3 separate regions of the Homo sapiens genome follow, and all the other regions are linked to region 3. The links are contacts of gene promoters, found by promoter capture Hi-C in human tissues and cell types (Jung and others, 2019). All regions are on one chromosome and are shown on one strand. Each heading gives the region's core, a stretch centred on a gene start or on the middle of the fragment in contact. The rest is flanking DNA. Distances are from core to core; before and after follow the strand shown.

The links. Contacts are between HindIII fragments. The study calls those that stand out against the background at their distance.
Region 1: a fragment that was not itself captured here is called in contact with the fragment with the promoter of ZBTB46 in region 3 in 4 of the 25 tissues and cell types used here (adrenal gland, dorsolateral prefrontal cortex, lymphoblastoid cells and 1 more).
Region 2: a contact is called between a fragment that was not itself captured here and the fragment with the promoter of ZBTB46 in region 3, in 4 of the 25 tissues and cell types used here (IMR-90 fibroblasts, dorsolateral prefrontal cortex, liver and 1 more).

Annotation. Positions count from the first base shown.
Region 1 is chr20:63,873,304-63,877,611 of GRCh38, forward strand. It overlaps TPD52L2 (TPD52 like 2), which reads left to right. Exons shown (of 7, transcript NM_003288.4): 3 at 365-513; 4 at 2,513-2,572. Among named protein-coding and RNA genes, the nearest start is that of TPD52L2, 10 kb to the left of the region's middle. The HindIII fragment of the contact is 6,379 bases long and covers 1-4,308 here.
Region 2 is chr20:63,766,611-63,770,489 of GRCh38, forward strand. All of the region lies in intron 3 of ZBTB46 (zinc finger and BTB domain containing 46), which reads right to left. It overlaps LOC124904956 (a long non-coding RNA gene), which reads right to left. Exons shown (of 2, transcript XR_007067720.1): 2 at 3,862-3,879. Among named protein-coding and RNA genes, the nearest start is that of ZBTB46-AS2, 25 kb to the left of the region's middle. The HindIII fragment of the contact is 8,976 bases long and covers 1-3,879 here.
Region 3 is chr20:63,828,654-63,832,736 of GRCh38, forward strand. It overlaps ZBTB46 (zinc finger and BTB domain containing 46), which reads right to left and starts at 2,611. Exons shown (of 5, transcript NM_001369741.1): 1 at 2,444-2,611. RefSeq lists an enhancer at 355-1,046 and a silencer at 2,629-2,768. The HindIII fragment of the contact is 9,346 bases long and covers 1-4,083 here.

The DNA of each region.
Region 1 (4,308 bases), core at 1,644-4,143, 45 kb after region 3:
ACATGGTGAAACCCCATCTCTACTAAAAATACAAAATTAGCCGGGCAGGGTGGCACACGCCTGTAATCCCAGCTACTTGGGAGGCTGAGGCAGGAGAATCACTTGAATCTGAAAGGCAGAGGTTGCGGTGAGCCGAGGTCGTGCCATTGCACTCCAGCCTGGGCGACGAGCGAAACTCCATCTCAAAAAAAAAAAAAAACCAAAACCCAAAAATCAGATGTCTGCTGTAGATGCTGTTATTCCTAGGACGAGTTAATGCTTTGGTAAGCGGAAAGTTCTTGTGTAACTCATGGCACTGTGCATGAGGATGTTAGTCACTTCCTGCAGTAGTGATGGCTCATCATGTCAACTGCATGCTTTGCAGGTGGAAGAGGAAATTGTCACTCTGCGCCAGGTCCTGGCAGCCAAGGAGAGGCACTGTGGAGAGCTCAAGAGGAGGCTGGGCCTCTCCACCCTGGGGGAGCTGAAACAGAACCTGTCCAGGAGCTGGCATGACGTGCAGGTCTCTAGCGCGTAGGTACCTGCCCCAGGCGCACCCCTGGGGGCTGAAGAGAACGGGCACCACACGTGCCCCGGCATGTGGGGGGGCGTCGTCATGCCCAGGGACGAGTTGCAGCCGTGGAGTTGAGTGGCCTGTTTGGAAGGATCCAGAGAGAGGCTCTGAGCCCTTGGCCCAGCGACTGTGCCTTGTTTGTTCAAAAAGCTTGGTGTCTACATGTGTTTTATTTATTTTTAAGTTTTTGTGTACTTTATTATTATTTTTTTTGAGACAGAGTCTCACTCTGTCGCCCAGGCTGGAGTGTAGTGGCGTGATCTTAGCTCGCTGCAACCTCTGCCCCCCGGGTTCAAGCGATTCTCCTGCCTCAGCCTCCCAAGTAGCTGGGATTACAGGCGCCTCCCACCGCGCCCGGCTGATTTTTTTTTTTGTGTGTGTGTGTGTGTGTGTGTGTGTGTTTTTAGTAGAGATGGGGTTTCACCATGTTGGCCAGGCTGGTCTTGAACTCCTGACCTTGTGATCCACCCACCTCAGCCTCCCAAAGTGCTGGCCACCACGCTGGCCTTTTTTTTTTTTTTATTATTATTCTTTTTTGAGATGGTTTCGCTCTGTCACCCAGGCTGGAGTGCAGTGGCGCAATCATGATTCACTGCAACCTCAACCTCCTGGGTTCAAGCAATCCTCCCAACTCAACCCCCCTCGTAGCTGGGATGACAGGCGTGCGCCACCATGCCTGGCTAATTTTTTCACGTTTTATAGAGACAGGGTCTTGCTTTGCTACCTAGGCTGGTCTCAAATTTCTGGGCTCAAGCAATCCTCTTGTTTTGGCCTCCTAAAATGCTTGGGATTACACGTGTGAGCCACCACATCCGGCTTATATACGTGTTCTAAAAAGGCAGACACACTGGCTAGTTGTCCTGGTGGAAAATGATAGGAAGACTGTTTCAGGGTCCAGACTTGAGAGAGCACTGATCAGGTCCTTGGCAAGAGCGGTTTTTCTGTGGTCCTTGTTGTGGGTGTGGCATGGTCACAGCCTCTGACCCAGATATGGCCATATGGGCCGGGCATGGTGGCTCATGCCTACAATCCCAGCACTTTGGGAGGCTGAGGCGGGTGTATCACTTGAGGTTAGGAGTTCAAGACTAGCCTGACCAACATGGAGAAACCCTGTCTCTACTAAAAAATAAAAAAATTTAGCTGGGCGTGGTGGTGCGCACCTGTGATCTCGGCTACTAGGGAGGCTGAGGCAGGAGAATCTCTTTAACCCGGGAGGCGGAGGTTGCAGTGAGCCAAAATTATGCCACTGCCCTCCAGCCTGGGTGACAGAGCAAGACTCTGTCTCAAAAAAAAAAAATATATATATATATATATTTATATATAGGACCATATGGTCCCACAACCCTAGGGACTCTGACCCTCCCCGATGACGACGTGGTCCTACATGACGACGTGGTCCTATAACCCTGGGACACCTGTCCCAGATGTCGCTCAGCTCTGAATTTGGGGAGTGCTGCTTTCTCACTTGGCCCTGTCCACGTGGCTTCTCTGAAACATACCCTTCAAGGTTGGGGTGGCTGTGGAATGTTTCCCAGAAGACATGTTCCTATACAAAGACAGAACAGGTCACATTTCATAAATCTCACATATGAGAGGCCCATGTTTTTGTCCTAGGACATCGTAAGTTTTGAATCCCAAGGGTGTTTTGGAGCTGTGGGCTGTGCCCTTCCAGTCCCCCACAGCAGTGCTGTTGCCCAAGAATCTCCTAGCGAGAGACCAGGGGCTACTGCCAGGTGACAGAAAAGGGAACATCAGTTCCGCTATACCCACAGCTCACCTGGCGGCCTGGGGCCTGCACAGGGCCTGGTTGAGGCAGTGGACCCCATTTTTGGGCCGTCTGTGGAGTTGATGTTCCTGCCAGCTGGTCCCTCTCTGTCTTCCCTGGAACTTCACCTGCAGTTTGATGCCTGAGTTAAAATTGTTCTTCTAAATAATTCACTGTAGACTTTCTGTTTTTAGCTATGTGAAAACTTCTGAGAAACTTGGAGAGTGGAATGAGAAAGTGACCCAGTCAGACCTGTGAGTGCCTGTATCATCAGCACCTCCTCCTTCCTCCTCTCCGCCTCCTGACACTCAGTCGGGGAAGGGGGCTGTGCACACTTGGCACAAAGCTTGTTTTGGTATTTGCTGGCTATTTTTTCTTCCTATAACTTTTCTTCTCTCAGGTAAACTATCCTTTAAACTTTTGTGGAACAGGGAATAGTAGCTGAGAGAAACTCACTCAGCCACCTGACCACACTTAAAACTCCCCTCTGCCTGATATGCGTCCCTTATGTAAGAGGCCTGCACTGGTCCTGGCTGTATCTCTAACTAATAGAGCTCCTTGGCTTCCGGCAGTGCACAAGCTGGACAACACCACTTGGCCTGGGTTTGTTGGTGGCGAATTTTTGTTTGTTCTAACCCTAACCCTTTTCCCTGCTTAGCTCCAGCTGTTGGGTTCTCAGAATTCCTTTCCTCCTTTAGGGGTAGTTCTTGAGTGGAGGGCATGGTGTAGGATATGCTGGTGGAAATTTGAAATCCTCACGATCTGGGAGGCACTGCATTGTCAGAGCATCAGCCAGTGTGGATCAAGTGTGGATAGTTTTGTATGTGTGTGTCAGTGGTGTTGTTCAGAGTGACTCCTAATATTTGGAGATCCTTAAACTAGATAATAGCACTTCATTTACTTGTGCTCTGATCTGATTATAACGTCTTTAAACTGAGGAGGGGAATATTTTTAAATAGTCTCTGTGGGATTTTTTCATCTGTTATTTAGAAGGAAGCGCTGTAATCGTTGCCACAGAACATGGGCAGAAAGTCCTCCCATGTTGGTCTGAAAGGAAGCAGTTGCTGCCGAGCTTGTCTTGAAGGTCCTGGGGGACCAGGCTGGCACTGCGTGCACATGGAGCCTTTGCGTCTGGTGTCACGGTGGGAGGCTGGTGTCAGGAACCCCGGGCGGTTCTCGGCATGTTGCCCCGGGTATTCCAGGGACCCGGGTGGTTCGTGGGCATGGCTACAGCAGCCAGCTGTACATCTGGGTGCTCTGGGGACCCGGGCGGTTCACGGCATGTTGCCCTGGGTATTCCAGGGACCCGGGCGGTTTGTGGGCATGGCTACAGCAGCCAGCTGTACATCTGGGTGCTCTGGGGACCCGGGTGGTTCATGGCATGTTGCCCTGGGTTTTTTTTGTTTGTTTGGTTTTTTTTTTGAGACAACGTCTCGTTCTGTCTCCCAGGCTGGAGTGCAGTGGCGCCATCTGGGCTCACTGCAAGCTCCGCCTCCCGGGTTCACACCATTCTCCTGCCTCAGCCTCCCCAGTAGCTGGGACTACAGGCGCCCGCCACCACGCCCGGCTAATTTTTTCTATTTTTAGTAGAGACAGGATTTCACCATGTCAGCCAGGATGGTCTCAATCTCCTGACCTCGTGATCCGCCTGCCTCAGCCTCCCAAAGTGCTGGGACTACAGGCGCCCACCACCACGCCCGGCTAATTTTTTGTATTTTTAGTAGAGACAGGGTTTCATGGTGTTAGCCAGGATGGTTTCGATCTCCTGACCTCGTGATCCGCCCATCTCGGCCTCCCAAAGTGCTGGGATGACAGGCGTGACCCACTGCACCCGGCTTGAGCAGGGTGTTCTAGGGACCCTGGTGGGCTGTGTCTCGGGCTGTTGAACAGTGACTTTGCTGGGCAGCAGATGGTTCCTAGGTTGGGACAGTGACGGTCATCCTTGCAGTTTGGGCATCAGGCGGACGCACAGTGCAGACTCAGTCTGAAA
Region 2 (3,879 bases), core at 28-2,527, 63 kb before region 3:
GGCAGCTCAGAAGGCACGGCCTGTGTGGACTGCTCTCCCGACCCTCACAGATGCCAGCAGAGCGCGGTCACCTTTGGTAAAATGCCCCAAACCTCACTAGAAATCCCACTTTTCTCCATCTTCAGAAACTCATCTCAGGAACATAAAGGAACATAAAGATTTGAGGAACCAGGGGAGGCTCCAGCAGATGGTTCCAGCTGCAGTGGAGATGGGGACCGTCCGGAAAGGGGATGGGCTGTTGGGCAGATGGTGGGACGCGTCTCTGGCCTGGGAGCGGGCTCCCCCGACACGCCACCTTCCCTGCCAGATGGTGCTTCTGGGTATTCCAGAATCTGGAATGGGGGATGCCTATCCCCCTCCTGAGCCCACCTGCTGCTCTGGGTCCCTGGAGCCCACCAAGTCCACAACCACCTGCTCTGAATAGAAAGCTGACATTGAACCTAACACGTCCGACGAGGACGGGCAAGGGCACCGCGGGGCGCTCTTTCTGAAAAGCAGCACATTCCCGTAATTCCACGCCGACACGTGGAGCGCCGCGCACATGCCAGGCACACACCGCCAAGGACGCCGTGGCAGGCTTTGTCTTTCGATCTCCCTAGAAAGTTGCTGGGTCGGAGCCACGTGGCTCCACTTCCCACGGATGGGGACATGTTTTCCCGCCCCTGAAAGCCCCCCGTCCCCACACATTGGCAATCCCGTAGGATCTCGGTCATCTGAACCCCGTCGGGCAGAAGCTGGAGGTCCACCCGCCCCAGCTGCCCACCGGCTGGGCATGGAGATGCCTTCACCTGGCAGCAGCCGGCAGAGGACTCGAGAAATGACCACAGAAAGGCACACACCGGCTCCCAGTCACAGCTCTCCGCAGATATCCCCCTCCGACGCGGCTGTTCGGTCACCCAGTTCCCCTCCTGCTCCCACACACTTGAGAGCTCTCTCGCCTGGGCAGCTGCACCCAGCTGGAGCCCGGGACCCGGACGCCAAAGCTCTGGCCGCAGCACTGAGGTCAAAGCAAACGCCGGCTCCAGCGCACAGACCAGAGGCACCCGCAGTTCTGTCCCAAACCACTTCCAGCAGGGGAGGTGCCTTCGCTGCTGTCACTTGCTTCACAGAGCTCCTTAGCTGGCCTCAGGGTAAAGCTGTCAGCGCCCAAGGAGCTCCAGGCGAGGCCAAGCCGTCCTGGCACTGGCTGCCCCCAGGGCTGGGCAAGTCCATCCAGGGCTGGGCAAGTCCATCCAGGCCTGGGCTGGAAGAAGACTCCTCAGGCATCCTGGACAGGCCACAGGCCCTGCAGAAACCCACCCTCATGCCAGCGGGAGCCAACTCTGGAAGAGGACTGCTCCGCCCAGCTCTCCACGCCATGAGAGGTGTCGATCTGGAACCAGAGACAGACAAGTTACAGACCGTCAGGATGGGATAAAAGCAGCAAGACTTCTAGTGTGGACACTCTGCTGCCCTCACTCACCTGGGATGTTGTCCAATCACTACTAAGACAGCCTGTCAACAGCCATCTGGAAAGGAAGACTGTAATTAATTCTCAATAAAGAGACACTCAAAAATATATGCATTAACAAAACATTAACACCTGCCACCAAAACTATCCTGTGAGAAATGAGAAACGACTCGTGTGGGAATAGCAATTAATTTCAAAATCCAAAATGTGTGGTTAAGGCTGGGCACCGAGGCTCATCCTAGCACTTTGGGAGACCAAGGAGGCTCATGCCTGTGATCCCAGCACTTTGGGAGGCCGAGGCAGGCGGATCACCTGAGGTCAGGAGTTCAAGACCAGCCTGGCCAACATGGTGAAACCTCATCTCTACTAAAAACACAAAAATTAGCCAGGCGTGGTGGTGTGCCCAACGGGATACCCTAACCTGTAATCCCAGCTACTTGGGAGGCTGAGGCAGGAGAATCTCTTGAACCCCGAAGGTGGAGGTTGCAGTGAGCTAAGATCGCACCACTGCACTCCAGCCTGGGTGACAAAGCCAGACTCTGTCTCAAAAGAAAAAAAAAAAAAGTGGTTGAGCTCTTGTTAAAGAATTTTTTTTTCTCCAGGGAGGTACACACCCCATGGCCCTTTCTTTATAGAAAAGACTCCGCGACTTCAGGCACAGGAAGGAGAATGCCTTCCACCAGGGCTCTGCGCGGCTCGGGCTGGGGCAGTGGAACGGCTTCCACCAGGGCTCTGTGAGGCTCGGACTGGGGCAGTGGCCTCCGAGTCGGGGGTTGGCCAGAAATGTGCAGTGACCAGGCCTGGAAGGGACCGGCCACCACCACTGAGCTCTAGGAACTGATGTTTCCAACCCACTGCAACATGAATTGAATGTCTTTACATTAAGGGAAAAAAATTGCTCAAAATATAAAAACCAATTCAACTTCATACAACCTGTTGCTGTGGGAGTGGAACAATTACTATTGCAAAAGCGAATAACTCGGCTGACCTAAAATGGGTTTTCTCTGTACCTGGCTGAGTTGAGGGTGGGAGAGGAGGGCACATGGAGAGCAGGTGCCACCAAAGTGCCTCCTCGGAGGTGCCCGGGCTCATCTGGGCCGTGGCCACGCACACATGGGTGTCAGGGACACCATGCCCCAAGTGTTTGGCCCAGTTGCCCCAGACAAAGCTGGCCACCCTGGTGTCTTACCTGAGCTGGGGGAGGCTGTGCCGGCTCCCTGGGCTGGGTCTGGCGGTTCCCCAGAGCTCATCCTGTGGCTCTGAGGGTGGAGGGTGGAGGGGCTTCTGTTCTGCCATCAGCGACCCTCACAAGGGACCCAGGCCCTGGGAACACAGGAAAGGAGGAGTCTCACCCACAGGAACGCGCACCAGCTGCTGGGTTCTAGAGAGTTCCAGAAGCACTGACGATCTTCCCGGCATGCGGTGTGAGCCCGGTGATGCCCCAAGGGTCTCGCTGGAGGCAGGTGTTTGAACGCTTTGATCAGCTGGCCAACCCCAAATGCCCGAGGTCTCCACCCATGACTTCTCTGCGGTGTGTCTCTTTCCTAGGAGCCAAGTGATTCCAACAGAGGGTTTTGGTGGAGGAAGTCGGAGCGTGAACACCTCTGGACTGCAGAAATGCTCTCCTGATGAGAACGCCAAGGCACGCTGGCCTGGACCACCTGAAAGTGCAGCACCATGTCCACCAAATGCCCTTTAGTCGGCAACTGTTCACAATTCCAGTCTCGATCCAGAATCAAGTTAAAGTTCTCGATTCATCCTTTAAATACCACAGGGAAACAGTCTTTAAACCACAACCAAAACAAAGACAAGCTGCAACTGTTCTCTGCAAAACGCCTCCTGACGCCCGGGCCCAGCCGCTCCGCCATCTCCACGGCCACCTTCTCCAGTAACGAGCTGGTCAGAAGCCGTCCCCGCAGGAAAGGACTGCAGGGAGCTGGGGTGAGCTTCACGGGAGGCGGCACCGCACCGCCATGGCTGTCCCTAGAATCCTTGACTCTTTAAAAGAGTGAGGGGGGTTACACCAGCAACGCTCCAGAGGCCGCGTCCCACATTTCCGGGCACGGCTGATGCGGGGCTTACAGTCTCCTGTCCCCGGCCGACCGGCCGGCGGCGCATCCTCGGCTTGTCAGTGTGAAGTTGGCTTCCTCGTGCTGTTTGGAGACACGAAGGCAGCACACACCTCAAGGCCCCAGGAGATCAGCGCCAGCCCAGCACAACTTGTGGGCAGCCATGTTCTGAGCCTAAATGACAGTTTTCATGGTTTCTACTGGGAGAACAATGTCTAGTAACAGAGAGGAGGCCCGCCTACTGCTGAAAAAGGAATAAAAGTAAGCACGAAGTTCAACAGAATTGAATGAGAAGTATGGCAAGTCCTCTGACAGGGATGTCAGAGATTGATGGTCTAGTAATGAAACTGCCATCTGTTT
Region 3 (4,083 bases), core at 1,361-3,860:
CCCCAGGACAGGGAACCTACCACGGCAGACGCCGTGACACTGGGTGTGCGGATGGGAAGGGGCAAGGACTTCTAGACCTTTCCTCTCACTTTAACTCAGCAGTGGAGCGGGTGCCTGGGCACCAGTCACGGCAGTGGGAGGAACCGGCTCCAGTTCTCAGGCTGTGGAGCCGTCTAGGCACCGTGCACGAAGTGGGTCTCCAGGGCTCTGAGAGGCCGGGCTAAGACCTCTGATGGAGAACAGAGCACTGGAGCTGCACCGCTGTCCCAGAAACACAGGCCACAGGGACAGAGTGGCCCAATTTCCCTTAATTTAAAAACCCCACGTCAGGGCAGTGTTGGAAAGTTCACTCTGCTAAAATTTAATTCAGTGTTTGTAAATAGTACATCGTCTGACAATAACAACTGTGTACCCCCCACGGCATTTCCTCTAAATCCTTGGAGCAGTTTCACCGTTCACAGGGTTTACCTCCTGACCTCTGTGACCACCAGGGGCTGGGGAGGGACGGAGGACGCAGGGCACTGGGTCAGCCTGGCCCTGGTGGAACTGACCTGGGGGCCCTTAGGTAACAGTCCACCCAACCCGAACATCCGAAACAGGAGTGGAACTCAGGTCTGAGCACAGAACGACTCATCCTCACACAAAACAGCTAAACCCGAACAGAAATCACCTCATCTAAGCAAAAGAAAACTCTCACGTTCAGGATAATGCTGTCAGTGAGAGGCTTAATTAAATGCTTGTCCCCAGGCTGGCCTGAAGGCAAGGCGGAATTTCGGATTTCTAAACACCTCAAAGTGAGTGCATTCCACGCCCCAAGGAGAAATCTGACAGTAACTCCCCAGCCCTCTTCCTTCAGTTACGGAGAAGATGTCTAGCTTTTTAGGGGACACAGTAAGTTCCCACCTAAATTTGCAGTAACTTGTGCCCAAGTACTCCCCTCACTCCTCAGTCCTTTCTGCAGTGGTAACCAGGCTGAGGTGCCCAAAAGTGCCAGTTGGAAACACGTAAAACACACCGAGCAGAAAGGTTCTACTCTGATAAATACTGTCGCTTGCTTCATTATTCATGTGAAAAACCCCTTCTATACATTTCCTTTTGATGAACAAACTATTTTCCACTCTTGTAGAGTGAAATAGTGCCTTGCAGAGGCAGCGTGAGTGCCAGCAGCAGAGATGTATCCAGTCTGTTACCCAAACGGGAAGTTAGCTCTGATAATAGAGCCAATATGAAAGATTCTACAATCGATACAATTAAAATGCCCGTGAGTTCTCGGCGCACAGGTGTCTGCGCCCAGGCCGCGCGCTAAACACGTTTCTAATTAGCATTTCTTTAAACAATGCTGATCACAATCTTGCCACCGTAATCCACTCCAAATGCATCGTTGAGATTGCAGCACGGAAAGCGAGAGAGGAAATTCGCTGCGAATCTCAAACTTTCTTTTGTTTATATTTCTTCGCTGTCAGAAAATATCCGTTCTTCGCCCCATCTGGTCTGTACCCTGGCTCCTCGGTCCAGCCCTATTGTGTGTGCTTCGTTAAACCTACAAACAGTGAATCTGTCAGCGGGGCCAGGGGAACCCCAACTAGCAGGAGCCCTCCCTCTGGCGCAGAGAATTCCCCGTTTGCCTTAGGGATTGAGTTGTCAGACACCGGCTCGCGCTCCCCCGCGAAACTGACATGTCTATTTACAGAGAAACAAAGACGCGGCTCGCAGCGGACCCCGCTTCCTCCGCGCGCCCCGTCCGCCCCGCGCGCCCCGAGCCCTCCGCGCCCCGAGCCGCCCCGCCCCGAGGCCCCTGCGCCCCGGTTCGGCCGGCGATTAAGATGGAGACCAGGCCGGCGCCCGGCGTCCGGGGAGACAATGACCCCCCGGCCTCAGGGCGCCGGGACCCGCCCGCGCCCACCTCCCGCAGTTCCGACTCTTGGCAAACTCGGCGCGGGCGGCTCCGGGTGCGGCTGGGCTGTGCCGGCGGGGGGCGCGGGCGGGGGGCGCCAAGACGCCCCCGGGCTGCCTCGGGGCCAGGCGTTGACGCAGCAGAAATTACCAGCTGGAAAATTCCCCTCTCGGAGGTGCCGGGGAGGGAGCGCGGCGGCGGCGGGAGGTGCCGGGGGCCGAGGGGCCGGGGCAGCCCAGCCGCCTCCGCGCTCAGCCCCGCGGGGAACCCGCGCCGCCCCCGCGCGCCCCGCCCCGCGCCGCCGGCCTGGGGGGCACCCGCGGGGGCCGGGCCGGGGTCTCCGCCGCCGCCCCCGGAGCCCGCGCCGCAGCTGGGAGCGCCGATGGCCCCCGGGAGGGCGCCCCCGCGGGGCGGGGCGTGGCGGGGCGGCCGGCGGCGGGGGCGCGCCCGGGCTCGCAGCGGCCCCGGCTCCCGGCTCCCGGCTCCGGGCCCGGCCCCCGCCGCGATGCGCCCGCCCGGCCGCGCGGACAATGAGCCGGCGCCGCTTACCTGTGACCCCATGGGGCGCGGGCGAGGGCGGGCGCCGCGGCCGCCGGGCCGGCGCCGGTGATCGCCGCCGCCGCCGGGAGGGCGCTGCGTCCGGGCGGGTCCGAGCTGCGCGCTCGCCGGGGCTGCTCGGTCCGTCCGTCCGTCCGTCGGTCCGTCAGGCCGGCGCGCGCCCCCGCGCCCGCTCCAACCCCGCGGCCCCCGCCGCCCGCGCGCGCGCGCCCCGCCCGCGGACCCTGACCCCGCCCCCCGGCGCGCGCCCGGCCGCCGCTGATTGGCCCGCGCCGCGCCCCGGCCGCGGCCACCGCCCCGGGCCCCGCCCACGCCGGCCCGGCCGCCGGCCCCGCCCCTCGCTCGGCTCCCGGCGCCGCGCCGCGGGGTCGCAGGGGGCCGCGCCGGGGGTCCGTTCTCCCCCCCGCGGGCAGCCGGACAGCGGAAGTGCGGGCTGGAGCTCGCTGGGCATTGTGGGAAGCCCCCTCCCCTGGGCTGGCGGGGGGCTGGGGCGGCGCGGCGCGGGGGTCCCCCTGGCCCCCGCTGCGCCCTTGCCCCGCGAGCGCGGAGCAGCCTGGAAACACCCCACGGGAGCGGCGACCCCGGCGAGGGCACCCGCTCCCTTCCCGGGCCGCGCACCGGGCGCTGCCCACGCGCAGGTTCCTCGGGGGCGCGCGGGTGCCCAGGTCACCGGCCGTCCCCGCGCCTGACGCGCGGTTGCACTGCGCGCGTCTCGCAAACTTGGCGACTCCCCCAGCCCGGCCGGGCATCAACGCGGGCCGCTCGCGGTGCGGAAAAGGCGCCCCCAAGGAAGGCCGCCCGGGGTGCGGGGTCTGGAAGGGCCTGGGCACCGCGCGCGCCTACCCTCGGGGGCCTCGGCGCACCCGGAGATCGGCGCACCTCGGGCGCAGGCCTCGTGGGGGTGCCCGCCAGTGGGGCTCGCTTTTGGCTGACTAGGGGCACCGGCGGCCGCGCGTGGGTCCCTCCCGTCGTGTTGTCTGCGGGGGACGAATGGCTCCGGGAGGGGGCGGGAACCAGCGGCCCGGGCCTCGCCCCAGCCCGTGTGCAGCCCCGATCCGAACGGCCTGGGACGCGTCTCCACCACTCGGCGCCCGGACTCTGCGCGTCGCTTCTCGCCTCCGCCGTCCTCAGCCCTCGGGCGGGTAGAGTGGGAAGCGCGGCCCCGCATTCCTGGCCGGCCTGCGCAGGGGTAAAGGCCACCTCGCTTCCTCTCCCCGGGCGCGGCGGGAAGGGAGGTGAGCCTGTGGCCGGCAGCCGCGCGAGGGAGTCGAGCCCGGCCCGGCCAACCAATGGGGAGGCGCCCGGGCCGTCCAGCCTGCCTCCCTGCGGGCCCAGCGCAGCGGATTCCTCGGGAGGTGGGAGGCGGCGGCCCTATGGGTGCTTTCAAATCTGGATGTGTGAGGCGCATTCAGGAGCGGCAGTGGGAGGCGGCTGAGGGCTCTCCATGAGTGAGCAAAGGCGAAGCGAGGTGTGGCTGCCGGGACCAACGCCTGGGACACTCCCTTACTGCCGTCGCGGGCGCCTGGAAATGGCTGTGCGGACACCCCGTTCCCATCCCCTCGCCAAGGTCGCCGGGATGGCACTGCGGCCCAGGAAGCCCCGTCGCCGGCCTACCTCGCGCGGCACCCTCT